Linked DNA regions of Homo sapiens: region 2 is linked to region 1. The links are contacts of gene promoters, found by promoter capture Hi-C in blood cells and fetal thymus (Javierre and others, 2016). All regions are on one chromosome and are shown on one strand. Each heading gives the region's core, a stretch centred on a gene start or on the middle of the fragment in contact. The rest is flanking DNA. Distances are from core to core; before and after follow the strand shown. Region 1 holds the start of FBXL14 (F-box and leucine rich repeat protein 14). Region 2 overlaps WNK1 (WNK lysine deficient protein kinase 1).

Region 1 (7,402 bases), core at 2,848-5,347:
AGATGGGGTCTTGCCATGTTGCCCAGGCTGATCTTGAACTCCTGGGCTCAAGCAATCCTCCCGCTTCAGTCTCCCAAAGCACTGGAATTACAGGTGTGAGCCACTGTGCCTGGCCCACAACTTTACATTCTCACCCACAGTGCACCAGGATTCTACTTTCTCCAGATCCTCACCTATACTTGTTATTTTCTGTTTTATTAATAGTAGCTATCCTTATGGATATGAGGTGGTATCTTACTGTGGCTTCCATTTGCATTTCCCTAATGACTAATGATGTTGAGCCTCTCTTCATGTGCTGTGGATCACCTGTGTATCTTCTTTGGAGAAATGTCTATTTAAACCCTTTGCCCATTTTTAAATTGGGCTTTTTTTGGTTGTTGTTTCTGCTTAAATCTTTTATTTGCAATCAGTGAATCAAATCCTCACCCTCTCTTATCTTTAATATTCTGTCACGAAGAAGTGTCGAGAGAGATGCTCTCCTACTTAGAAATACTGAGCAACAGAATGAATGTTACTCTCAAGAAACCTTGAAGTTGGAAAGGCAGCATTTTATTATAAACCTCAGATTACTAATGGCTGCCCAGAACTCTCGAAGAAGTTTCGATATGTATGAAGTCTTTCATAAAGAGATTATTATTTATATTATCCATCTCATTCACTTCAGTTCAACAACACTGACAAAATGTCTACTACATAGCAGGCATTGTGCCATAGATACACTAGAGTTCAAGGAAAATAGACACAAAATATTTTAACTTTTTTTTTTTTTTGACAAGGTCTCTTGCTCTGTCGCCCAGGCTGGAGTGTAGTGGCACAGTACCAGCTCACTGCAACCTCTGTCTCCTGGGTTCATGCGATTCTCATGCCTCAGCCTCCCGAGTAGCTGGGATTACAGGCATGTGCTGCCATGCCCGGCTAATATTTTCGTATTTTTTTTAGTAGAGACGGGGTTTCACCATGTTGGCCAGGCTGGTCTCGAACTCCTGGCCTCAAGTGATCATCCCGCCTCGGCCTCCCAAAATGCTGGGATTAGAGGCATGAGCCACTTTGCCCGGCCTATGTTAACTCCTCTGACCCAACCCATAAACTAGACTCTGGGCCACTATTTTTGGAGATATATATATATATATATATATATATATATATATATATATATATATATATACTTGAATGAGGAGTTAAAAGCTACAGAGCTCTTCTGATCTTTCCTGCCAGGTCTTCCCCTTCTGAAGGAGAAAGTATGAATCCTTAGGTAAGCCTGATCTTTGGGTTGGGCCTCTCAATTTTCCCACCCTACCCAGGTGAAAAGCACATTCCATCTGAAAAATCTAGAATTAAAAAAAAAATTCTTTGTAAGGCTTTGGAGAGACTCCCTACACAAGGCTATCATTTCTGCTTTTAAATAGGCTAGTTAAAAAACTTATGGTTGCAACTTGTTAAATCATATACAAAAATCTCAACCAGTTTTAAAAATATGAAGAGCAAGCCACAGGATTTTCTACATTGGTATACATCTTTGCCAGACAATCAGAGTCTCCTGTCTATACATATTCTTCATATATTTTTGTGTCCTAAGTCTGAGCATAAACCAAAGCTCCCAGGAAGTTATTGTATTCGAAGTTATTCTTAATATCTGGAGCCTGCATTAGGAACAATGTGTAATTGTTCCATGGGTTAAGGAGACAGTATGCTAGGCTCTTGGCCTCAGAGTGTTCCTACTGGAAAGGTCCCTGAAGATTACCTAGTCAAATCATCCTGGTGTTACACAAGGAAACCGAGACCCAGAAAGGAGAGTCGTTTCCTCAGTAGCATAAAGTCACCAGGTGTTCAGATTCGGCATAGGGCTCATTCTACGCCCTAGTTCCTTTTCCCCGGGAATGCTTTTTCTGTGATGCTTCTTGATGCTATATTTTCCTATTTATTGAAGGTGAAAATAGTCATATTGCTGAAAATCCTTATAATATATACTTGAGTGCCTTAAATAAAAGGCTTTGTGTTAATAAGATTCTAGAATTCAAGAAAAACTGTTGTTAGAACGAGGACCAGATGGCCAACTTCTAGAGAAAGTGCTTCCAGATACCTCTGAATGACTCTTCAGATTTGAGAACAAGGGCCTTTCTAGAGAAGGAAAACCATTAGGCTCCTTCTTAGTCCGAGGCTGGTCAGGCCCCTTGTCTAAAATTCCCCCCAAATGTGTGGGGTACTTTGTTTTTTATTAAGCAGGATTAAGTTACACTAAGGTGCTTTGGATTAAGGCCTTGACATCAACCCAAACACATCTAGGTGCACAGAACAATCAAAAAGTGACTTTTGCGCAGAATTTAAGGTAAACGTTTAGGCAGAAGTGACTGAGAAGAATAAAAGCCTAGATAACCTCCAGGAGAAGAGTGAAGCCCAGGCATACCCCAGAATCGTGACACTTACTGCCACCGTACATCTGGATGTACTGGATGACTAACAGTACAGTCTATTTTTTCAAGAAGGTTATAAAAATCTATGGGCTCCACACTGCGTGTAATGTGGGTGAGGTAACAAGCTGGCGAGAATTTTTGCTTCTGCATTTCCTGATTTAGGAAAGAGGAGTGGTAGGGGTGTAAAAGGTGTATTATGCCTATTACTGAATCTGTATGTATTTGGTCTAATAGTGGTTGCTTGGGCAAAAGTTACTCTCCTACACTGAATATGGAACCCCTTCCAAATCTTGTTCAGGTCCTCAAAGAATCAATGAAACCATTTTCCCTTTCTGATAAATCCGCTGGTCTTGTATCTAGTTGTGTGGATCCATAAATTAAAATACAGAGGATCATTTTCTCTGATCCAAAAATTCTTGGTTTGGGGGTAGTTAAAATGAAACTTCTGAAATTCTATCCTTAGTACGGACATTTAGGACCCAGGGGCTACATCCTAGAATGGAATTGTGCCCTGCTTCCATAAAACGGTTGATAAACCAACAGACACGACTGGATTGTCTTAAACCAAGTTCAACTGTCATTCCATTTTAATCAAAAAGTAAATTGGATTCAGCATATACGAATATATTGACTATCAGTACAACTGAGCCATACAACTGATAGTCTAAGGCTGATGACAAGGAGAAAGCTCCTAAAACAAGGCTTAGGGGAAGGCTGTTCCCCTGTAAGCAAAGCGGACTGAGGGCATTGGTGGCGCAGCAGCGTTCAGAAGTAGAGGGAAGTTTTGATGTATCAAGTACCGAGGGAAACACACACAGCGTGTCTGGAAACCATCAGAAGATGCTAGAAGGAAGTAGTCATGGATAATTCTAGAAATTTCTAGAACACCGACTGGAGGGGGTCATTGTTTAAGATGAGTACAGCCGAGTTTCTCTCCAATTTAAGACACAAGACTGGAGAGAAAGGCGTCGTAGTAAACAGCCCCAACCGGGGGAGCAGGGGGTGTGATAATGAGGCGTTAAGGGGCATTAGGGACAGTAAGAAAAGGAGAGTTGGGGTGACGATTATTGAGCACTGCTATAGGAGGCGGCTCTCGCAGGGATAATCAAGGGAGAGGGGTGTGAAATAAGGGTAACGAATTGCAGGGGTAAACTGTGGGAAGGGGCTGCGCAGACTTCAACAGCAAAGAAAAAGAAGGAACGGGGCTGGGGCGTGGCCCAGAGAGGGAACGGCTCAATAACGGGCTACCGGGTGAAAAGAAGCCGGGTGGGGAGGCGCTCTGCTGACAGCTGCCGCTCCCCCGTGGCGCCCACAGGGTTAAAAATCAGGGGCCACGGGACCAGGCCGAACTCGGTTTCCAGGGCAACGGCTCCACAGTTCCGGCAGCGCAGGCCCGTACCATTGCGCGGGCGCGGGGGAGCGGGAGCGGCGGAGGGGACGCGCTGCAGGGCGGCGGAGCCGGGGCCGGCCCGGGCGCTACCAAACGCACGGCCCGCCTGCTCGCCCGGGGTCTGCGCCGAGCCGCGCTCCGGCCGGACGGCCGCGGCGTCCTTGGTGCGGGGGCCGGCAGCTCCCAAGTGGCCGCGGACGGCGGGGGAGAAGGAACGCACGCCGCCGGCCGGGATTGGCCTCCTGGTCCCCCCGCCTGGGCGGCGGAGTGCGGGCGGCCCGGGGCTGGGAGGTTTGAAAAGCGGGCGAGAGACAAAGGCAGCAGGAAGCCTCCTCCGCGCCCGGAGCCCGTGCGCCCGGCCCCCGGGGCCCCCTCGCCGCCCGCCGGCCCGCGGAGCAGCGGCGGCGGCAGGAGGCGGAGGATGCGGCAGGGGGCGTGGGCGCGGCGGCGCGGGCGGAGCGGCGCGGCCCGGGCGCGGCGTGGGTAGAGCCGAGGCGGCGGCGGCGGCCGGCCTCCGGGAGCGAGAGCGAGGCGCCTTCCCCGCCCGGGATGTGAGCGCCGTGCGGAGCCCGGGGCGGGGGAGGGCCGGGCCGGAGGCGCAGCCGGCAGGAAGGAAGGACGGACGGACCAGGAGGAGGAGCGGCGGCGGCGGCCGGAGCCGGAAGGCGGGGAGGGGCCGGCCGTTGGGCCCGAGGCGGCGGCGGCGGCGGCGGCGGCGGCTGGGGAGAAGCGCTCTCGTCGCCTGCCCGAGGCCGGAGCGGCGGGGCCCGCGCCTCCTCCCCCCAGCGCCGCGGAGGGGGGAGGAGGAAGATGGAGACCCACATCTCATGCCTGTTCCCGGAGCTGCTGGCCATGATCTTCGGCTACCTGGACGTCCGGGACAAGGGGCGCGCGGCGCAGGTGTGCACCGCCTGGCGGGACGCCGCCTACCACAAGTCGGTGTGGCGGGGGGTGGAGGCCAAGCTGCACCTGCGCCGGGCCAACCCGTCGCTGTTCCCCAGCCTGCAGGCCCGGGGCATCCGCCGGGTGCAGATCCTGAGCCTCCGCCGCAGCCTCAGCTACGTGATCCAGGGCATGGCCAACATCGAGAGCCTCAACCTCAGCGGCTGCTACAACCTCACCGACAACGGGCTGGGCCACGCGTTTGTGCAGGAGATCGGCTCCCTGCGCGCTCTCAACCTGAGCCTCTGCAAGCAGATCACTGACAGCAGCCTGGGCCGCATAGCCCAGTACCTCAAGGGCCTGGAGGTGCTGGAGCTGGGAGGTTGCAGCAACATCACCAACACTGGCCTTCTGCTCATCGCCTGGGGTCTGCAGCGCCTCAAGAGCCTTAACCTCCGCAGCTGCCGCCACCTTTCGGATGTGGGCATCGGGCACCTGGCCGGCATGACGCGCAGCGCGGCGGAGGGCTGCCTGGGCCTGGAGCAGCTCACGCTACAGGACTGCCAGAAGCTCACAGATCTTTCTCTAAAGCACATCTCCCGAGGGCTGACGGGCCTGAGGCTCCTCAACCTCAGCTTCTGTGGGGGAATCTCGGACGCTGGCCTCCTGCACCTGTCGCACATGGGCAGCCTGCGCAGCCTCAACCTGCGCTCCTGTGACAACATCAGTGACACGGGCATCATGCATCTGGCCATGGGCAGCCTGCGCCTCTCGGGGCTGGATGTTTCGTTCTGTGACAAGGTGGGAGACCAGAGTCTGGCTTACATAGCCCAGGGGCTGGATGGCCTCAAGTCTCTCTCCCTCTGCTCCTGCCACATCAGTGATGATGGCATCAACCGCATGGTGCGGCAGATGCACGGGCTGCGCACGCTCAACATTGGACAGTGTGTGCGCATCACGGACAAGGGCCTGGAGCTGATCGCTGAGCACCTGAGCCAACTCACCGGCATAGACCTGTACGGCTGCACCCGAATCACCAAGCGCGGCCTGGAGCGCATCACGCAGCTGCCGTGCCTCAAGGTACTCAACCTGGGACTCTGGCAGATGACGGACAGTGAGAAGGTCAGGTGAGGGCGGCAGCACCAGCTCCCCTTGTCCCGCCCTGTTCATCCTCCCATTACCACCGCCCCCACACACTCACACGCACACTTACGCACAGATCATTGCAGCGGATGAGATGGGGCTATGACAGAAGCCTCAGGCTCGTTTCCTCCTCCCTCCTCCAGCCCCCTCCCGGCTTCCAGCCCATTCTCTTTGCAGCTGGGGTTCCTACCCTACCCTACTCCCAGCTCCTTTTCCCCGCGGATGGAGAGATGGACTCTGCTGCTTACCCACCCACTCCCCTGCAGGGGGTGGAGGACTGATTCAGCTACTGTATCCCCACTGCTGTGACTGGAAATGGGGGTGGGGAGTGACTGGTCTTTTCAACCCTGGGGAGTTGAGGAAAATGTCTGCTTTCACTTCAGCTTTCATTTGAATACTGTGATCTGGTTTTTATTTTGAAATGTATAAAAAGCAAACCCAGCTACAAAGGCCTTTTCACCCTTCCACTTTGTAACTAATCCCAGTCTCTTCTCATCACTCCTCCTCTTACAGTACTCTGCTATTCATGCTCATTTCATGTTCTTAATCTTCTTTCCTGTTTAAAAATTTTTTTTTGGAAAAAATTTGAAATCATGGTCCTTTTTTCTGCTGAATATATTCTATATATTATATATATATAAATTATATATATATATATATACATATATATGTCTGGCTACCTCGTTTTAGTTTACTTTTTTTCTGAAGCCCTGGAATTCTACAAGAGAGATATTTTGAGACTGAAACATGTTTGTGCCTAGACTGGAAAGATGCCCTTGGGTTTGTCCGTCTTTTTGTGTTGGCTTCTTCCCAGCCTCCATCCGTCCAGTGTGCCCCACTTCCACATTCTGGCTATAATTTCCTTTTTCTCCTTGTTCATTGGGATTTGAGGACCTATTTCTAAATCTTAATTTATAGCACAAATATGTGGGAGCAATGAGAGTTGAACCGTTGTTTTTGTTGGAGATGCAGATTGTGTCTTGAAAATGATGATTATATATGCAAATTCTGCCCTACCCTCACCCTCTTCCAAGTTTCCCCCCAAAAAGGTCACACAGTGCGGCTTCCTGTGGGAAACAGGAGCAGAGCTGGCCTGCAGAGCCCCTGGGGCTGTGATGAAGCTCATATCTTATCTCTGTTCTATTAACAAAATGGGAGTTTGTGGGTTTTAAAAAATTCCGTTTCTAAATGGAGGAATAGATGACTTTCTTTCTTTTGGTGGGGGTTGGGACTTGTGGCTTTAAAGAAATCACTTCTGAGTAGGATGTATATTTTCGTTGGATTTTTGTTGTTATTTCTTTAGAACCCTCCACAGCAACATGCAAGACCATGGAGTTAAAGAAACCCAGAGACCTTTATCAATTAATTGTACTGTTTGTGAATTTGTATAAATAATAACAAAGATCCTCTTAAAACGTTTATATTCTTACAGTAAAAGGTTAAACTGATATTTATATAATAAAAGAGGAAATATGAAGTATGTTTTTGAAAAAAAAAAAAAAAACAACAGCCTTGTATCTGCGAATTATTTTTAAGGCATTGTGTGCTTGGGTACATGCCAAGGTAGGAGGTGTTG
Region 2 (6,952 bases), core at 1,888-4,387, 780 kb after region 1:
AAGACAAAGCAGATACATTGGATTTTATCAAAATTTAAAACTTGGCACAGGCTTGAGCATCCAAATCAGAAAATCCAAGATCCAAAATGCTCCAATAGAAAATCTGAACTTGAGCACCAACATGACACACAACAAAAATGCTCATTTGAACATTTTGGAGTTCAGATTTGGGAGGCTTAACTGGTAAGTATAATTCAAAGTTCCAATATCTGAAAAAATTCAAAGCCCTTCTGGTCCCAAGCATTTCGGATAAGAGATACTATACTCAATCTGTACATCATAGAACATTATCAAGGAGCAAAAAAGGCAACCTATAGGAGAAAATATCTGCATATCATGGATCTGGACAAGGGTCTAATTTCTAAAATATATAAAGAACTCTAATAAATCAACAAAAAAACAAGCAATCCAATAAAAAATGAGCAAAGAACTTGAATAAACATTTCTCCAAAGATACACAAATAGCCAATAAGCATATGAAAAGATGTTCCACATTATTAATCATTAGGGAAATGCAAATGTAATCCATAATGAGGTATCATGTCACTCCCGGTAGGATGCCTCCTCAAAAAGTTAAACAAAGATTTCCACATGACTCAGCAATTCCATTCCTAGTATACAGCCAAAAGAAATGAAAACAGGTACTCAAAAAAATACTTCTGCACAAATATTCATAGCAGCAGTACTCATAATAGCCAAAAGGTGGATACAGCCCAAATGTTCATCAATGGATAAATAAACAAACTGTGATATTTCCATGCAATGGAATGTTATTCAGTCATAAAAGGGGATGAAGTACTGATGCGTGCAATCACGATGATCCTCGAAAACACCATGCTAAGTGAAAGACGCCAAACACAAGGATCCATAACATACTTTGAGTCTATTTATAGGACATATCCTGATTAGATAAATCCATAGAGATGGTAAAAAGTTGGTAGTTGTCAGGAGCTGAGGGTTGGGAGAAATGGGAAATTGTTCCACGGGCATAGAGTTTGTGACATGAAAAGCATTCTAGAAATTGCACAGAAATGTGTTTGTATTAACACTACTGAACTATACACTTAAAAATGGTTAAGATGGTAAATTTTGTTATGTTTTTTACAATAAAAAAATCCCATCCACGAATGGCTGGTCCCAGAGATCAGGCAGTCCAACCACTTGTTTTACATACACATGGGGAACTGAAGCCCAAATAAGGTTAGCTATTTGCCCAAAATCACAGTTGGTCAGAGGCAGCGGTGGGAGCAGTCACAACTTCTACTGCAAGTCTAATGCTCTTTCTACTTAATAAACCCTCCTGTTGGCATAAGCCTCTGAAGCTCAGAAACTGAAAATTTCTTTTTAATTGTAAAAAGAAAAAGAACTTAGATAATGTGCAATTAAAGAAAAAATACGCTGCCTGGCTGGAGGAAGGGAAATGCAGAGTAACTGCTTAATGGGCACAGAGTGTTCTGAGGTGATTAAAATGTTGAGTAACTTGATAGATGTGGTACTTACAAAACATTGTGAATGTACTAAGTGCCACTGAATTGTACTTTCTAAAATGTTAATTGTATGATATTTGAATTTCATGTCTATTTAAAAAAATACATCTAAATTTATCTCAACTTTTAATCCAAATTTTTTTTCTTTTTCTTTTTTTGAGATGGAGTCTCACTCTGTCACCCAGGCTAGAGTGCAGTGGCACAATCTCGGCTCACTGCAACCTCCACTTCCGGGGTCAAGCGATTCTCTTGCCTCAGCCTCCCGGGTAGCTGGGATTACAGGCGCCCGCCATCATGCCCAGCTAATTTTTCGTATTTTTAGTAGAGATGGGGTTTCACCATGTTGGACAGGCTGGTTTCGAACTGACCTCAGGTGATCCTGACCTCAGGTGATCCATCCGCCTCAGCCTCTCAAAGTGCTGGGATTACAGGTGTGAACTACCACGCCTGGCCTTAATCCAAATTTTCTGACTCATACATTCCCATCTTATTTTTCAGCTATGGGTGTTTTATCTGTTTCAATGTAAATATACATAGAGAACAAAGGTAGAAACTCGAAAGGTCCAAAAAGCACGCATTTTGGAATTAATTCCCATTCCTTCCCAATCTGCCTCTCCAAATGCTGCCAATGGTCCTAGTTATCCATTCTTCCAGAAATGAATATGAATGTTTTCAATCTACTTGCTTAGGAATCTGTATACATTCTCAATCAGAATTCTTAAATTCTGAAATTTTTCTTTTTCTCATTCTCTCTACTTTTTCATTTTTATTTTTGAGATGGAGTCTCGCTCTGTCACCCAGGCTGGAGTGCAGAGGCACGATCTCGGCTCATTGCAACCTCCACCTCCTGGGCTCAAGTGATTCTCTGCCTCAGCCTCCAGAGTAGCTAGGACTACAGGGAAACCCCTTTTAGATAATTAAATCTATCTGGGTCTTCTCACTACTATGTCATCCTCTTTAAATATTTTCTGTCTTTTTTGTGTGTTCTGTTGCTCATTTCTTCGTAGTTAATATTCCTGTCAATTCAATTCAGTCTGCTGTTTAACCGTTAGACCATTTATGTTTGAATTTTAATGTTCTTATTTCTAGAAGTTCTTCAGAAGCTTTTAAATTATGCCTGTCTTTTTTTTCTTTGGTGTCTTTTTCCTTCAATTCCTTCTTTTCTCTTTATACACTTCATATACACTTACAAATATCTTTACTGACATCATTATGTAAATAATTGTTTGTAATCACTTTCAGACTTGTCCATGATATCCTTAATTGTTGCAGTGCTATTTTCTGGTTGTGTCTATTCACCTTCATTGGTGTGATTTGTAATTTAATTGTGAGGTCATCTTCTTTGGAAACAGTTTTGCCTCTGGACACTGACCAAGGAACTGTGAAAATGTCCCCGGGAGTTTTCTTTCCGTTCCTGATCAATTATCATGTATGTTCTTCGGTTTGGGATTCCTGTACCAAGTAGATGGTACAAATTTATGTTATAGCGCCATCTACATATGAGATGGAAGAATACCAAACAGGCTGGGCACCGTGGCTCATGCTTGTAATCCCAGCAGTTTGGGAGGTCAAATCGGGATGAGGCCAAATCAGGATGAGCTCAGGAGTTTGAGAGCAGCCTGGGCAACAAAATAGACACTGTCTCTACTAAAAAAAAAAAAATTGTTTTTTTATTAGACAGGTATGGTGGTGAGCAACTATAGTCCCAGGTAGTGGGGAGGCTGAGGTGGAAGGATTCCCTGAGCCCAGGAGTTTGAGGCTGCAGTGAGCTATGATTGTGCTGCTGCACTCTGTCCTGGGCAACCGAGTGAGACCCTGTCTCCAAAAAAAGAAAAAGAAAAGATTAGTTTACAGAATAATTAAGAACACTGGTAGCATTTGATGTGAATTTCTATTTTTCATAGGTCTCCCCTCTTATCCACAGTCTTCTGCACACAGGTAAAATTCCTTGCAGCTTTCACTGGCTAGAGCACTGAGGTCTCTCTTTTCACGGATAGTTCAGTTTTTTGACACAGGCTAAGTTCTAGCTCCCCTCTCTACCTAGTTCTAAGGCTTTCTGTCCTTGCATGGACATTAAAACTAGCATCAACTCCTCAACCAATATGTGGTCTAAAATCCCAGAGTATAAGTTCCTGTTTTGGCTTTGAGTTATCTCTGCTTATTATCTGGAGGTTAACCTTTCTTTCCTTAAAGCTTAGACACGTATTGGAAAAAACTTTTATTATATTCCACATTTCAGTTTGTTGGTGTGGGACAGCCATTCCACAGGGGCTTATTACCCCACTATGTTACCCAAAGCTCCTCAATATAGTTTTTAAAACAAGTAAACCATTGTATTTTAGAGTAATCTTAGGCATGCCAGACAAACTGTTGACAACCAAGTAAGTATCCAAACCAGTGGAAAGAATCTCAAGATGTACACATAATTATTACCACATAATTCTCCTTAATTCATTCAAACACTTATTATTCAGTATTAGACACTTCCAGTAGAATGTGATATCTAGCACTTGTTCATAGTACTAGGTATATAGTGCTAGTTAGCACATTCTAATGGAAGAAAAGAGAGTATCAAGAAGCCTGACTAACTAGGATAAAGGTATTGCCATAAACAAGAGTGGAAGTTGGATAAAGAAATTAGAATTTGCAGGACAGAAATGATCTGTTCATGTTTCAACATGCTAACCGTAAGCATTTCAGAAAACATGCAAGTGACTATATCCAGGTGCTGTAACACTGTATTCCAATGATCTGGAATTAATCAGCTCAGCAGTATTAACTTTAACAATTAATAAAGAATATATGCCACAGTGATAATTTAAAAATATCCAATTTCACCAAATAAAAAATTTATACAAGGTAACTTACTACAGGTTCTTCTCTGAGTAAAAACAGATCCTCTAAGATACCAGGGGTCCCCAACCACTGAGCCACAGATCAATATCAGTCCATGGCCTTTTAGGAACCTGGCCACACAGCAGGAGGTGAGTGGCAGGCGAGCAAGCAAAGCTTCATCTGTATTTACAGCCGCTCCCTCACTGCTCGCATTACCACCTGAGCTCTGGCTCCTGTCAGCAGCATTAGATTTCTCACAGGGCCATGAACCCTACTGTGAACTGTGCATGCAAGGGATCTAGGTTGAGCGTTCGTTATGAGAATCTAATGCCTGATGATCTGCCCTGTCTCCCATCACCCCCAGATGGGACAGTTGAGTTGCAGGAAAACAAGCTCAGGGCTCCCACTGATTCTACATTATGGTGAGTTGTATAACTATTTCATTATATATTTTAATGTAATAATAATAGAAATAGAGTGCACAATAAATGTAATGTGCTTGAATCATTCCAAACTTCCCCAGCCCCACCCCCGCACCAGTTCATGGAAAAACTGTCTTCCATGAAACCAATCCCTGATGCCAAAAAGGTTGGGGACTGCTGCTCTAAGAAACCTGGGATTACAAAGGCATACTCCAACACTTACCAAAAGCTCTTTACAATAAGTAACGGGAAATTTCTGCATTAAACCTATTTCTGTGAAAGGAATGATAGATCTAGCTATTTGGGGATTAATTTCTGATGTTATGGGAAATGGAACTAAAAGTATTTTTTAAGTGATAACTGTCACAATATAATCTGCATCTGATATAAAAGTTGCAGGGATATAGCAAAGCACAATACAAATGAAAAAAATAGGTAGTTTCTCAATAAACCTTAATCTCATTTTAACCACTAGAGGGCTACCTTGACATTTGATTTCTGATTCCTTAGCCACTCTTTTTTTTTTTTTTTGGAGACAGAGTCTCACCTAGGCTGGAATGAAGTGAGGTGATCTCAGCTCACTGCAACCTCCGCCTCCTAGGTTCAAGCGATTCTCCTGCCTCAGCCTCCCAAGTAGCTGGGGTTACAGGTGCACGCCACCATGCCCGGCTAATTTTTGTACTTTTAGTAGAGACGGGGTTTCACCACGTTGGCCAGGCTGGTCTCGAACTCCTGACCTCAGGTGATCCAACCTCAGGTGATCCGCCTGCCCCGGCCTCCCAAAGTGCTGGGATTACAGGCATGAGCCACCACACTCGGCCATAACTTCTCATTTCAATACTTACCAAGAAATAATTATCAAATCACTTTATATACTAGAGGACTTTGTGGGCAAGGAAATATGCTAATACAGTAACAGTTGGAAGGACTGTTCCCTTCTTAGGCTGAACAACCAAAGTGAAACTGGTAGACCTGAAATTTAAAAAATCAAATTCTCTCATACTTCTTGGTCAGCTTTTGTAATACTGATGAACTTACGTTTTAAGTGTTCCAGACGTCATAAGTTCAGTCACCAAAACAATGCACTTCTTTCCTTTTACTGTGGATTCCCAGGAATCATAAAATCTAACAATATTGGGATGCTGAAGACCTTTTAACATTTCAGCTTCTTCTTTAAATCTCTGCCTCTCAGACTTTGTTAATTTTCGATCCTAAAATCAAAAACCAAAACAGAATGTGGTTTAAAATGATAAAACACCAAATCAGACAGTTAATCTTAGACACTTAAACATTACTAAATCATGATCGATGGTGTTTAAAAAATGCAAATGCTGAAGTTATAAATGATAGATTTGGATTATATACATTCATGCTTGAGATCATTTTAGTATCTTTACTGTTAATGTGTAACTCAGATATAGTCTCATTTTTGTAAGGTGCAGTTAACTTTCCATATCCAACATAAGTCATCAATTGCTAGACATGCAATTTAATGTCAGGAAATGAACATAGGCTTTGGAGGCAAAGACCTAAATATAAATTCCAGTTCTATCTTTGCCTTGATTAAAATCAATCTATCTTTAACCAAAACATTGTTTTTATTTTTGTTTGTTTGTTTAAAAGACAGGAAGTCACTCTGTGACCAAGGCTGGAATGCAGCGGTGCTATCATAGCTCACTGCAGCCTCAAATCCTGGGCTCAAGGGATCCTCCCACCTCAGCCTCCAGAGTAGCTAGGACTACAGGCATGTGCCACCTTGCCCGGCTAATTTTTTAATTTTTTGTAGAGATGAGGTCTTGCTATGATGCACTGGCTGGTCTTGAACTTCTGGTGATCCTCCTACTTTGGCATCCCAAAGCCTGGGATTACAGGTGTGAGCCACTGCATGAAGCCTAATTTTTTTTTTCTTTTAAGCAATAACTTAAATACTCAAGTATTTGTCTTCAAGTCAGGAAAATTCTCAGTATCTCTCTAAACACTGTCTCCTCTCATTCTCTTTTTTTCCCCTTCCAACTCTTCTTTTCTTTTTAAACAATTTTTAAATGTGTGTGAGTATGTGTATAACTTTAGTTTATCCTTAATATCCTTTAATTTCTCTCTCATTTTCCATTTCCTTCTGTATGCTACTTTCTGGGCAATGTTTTCTGATCTACCTTCCTGTTCATTAATTTTTCTCTTCAGTTATTACATCAATTATTAATTGAACTT

The links. The method cuts DNA at HindIII sites, captures the fragments that hold promoters and counts their contacts. A CHiCAGO score of 5 or more calls a contact.
Region 2: a contact is called between a fragment that was not itself captured here and the fragment with the promoter of FBXL14 in region 1, in 2 of 17 cell types (fetal thymus and total B cells). The highest score is 5.5, in fetal thymus.

The regions. Positions count from the first base shown.
Region 1 is chr12:1,591,276-1,598,677 of GRCh38, reverse strand. FBXL14 (F-box and leucine rich repeat protein 14) reads left to right here and starts at 4,097. Exons shown (of 2, transcript NM_152441.3): 1 at 4,097-5,805. The coding sequence starts at 4,612. RefSeq lists enhancers at 3,393-3,462, 4,833-5,022, 5,540-6,143 and silencers at 3,723-4,592, 5,573-5,622. The HindIII fragment of the contact is 12,621 bases long and covers 1-7,402 here.
Region 2 is chr12:812,645-819,596 of GRCh38, reverse strand. It overlaps WNK1 (WNK lysine deficient protein kinase 1), which reads right to left. Exons shown (of 28, transcript NM_018979.4): 2 at 5,783-5,955. Among named protein-coding and RNA genes, the nearest start is that of WNK1, 64 kb to the right of the region's middle. The HindIII fragment of the contact is 1,090 bases long and covers 2,593-3,682 here.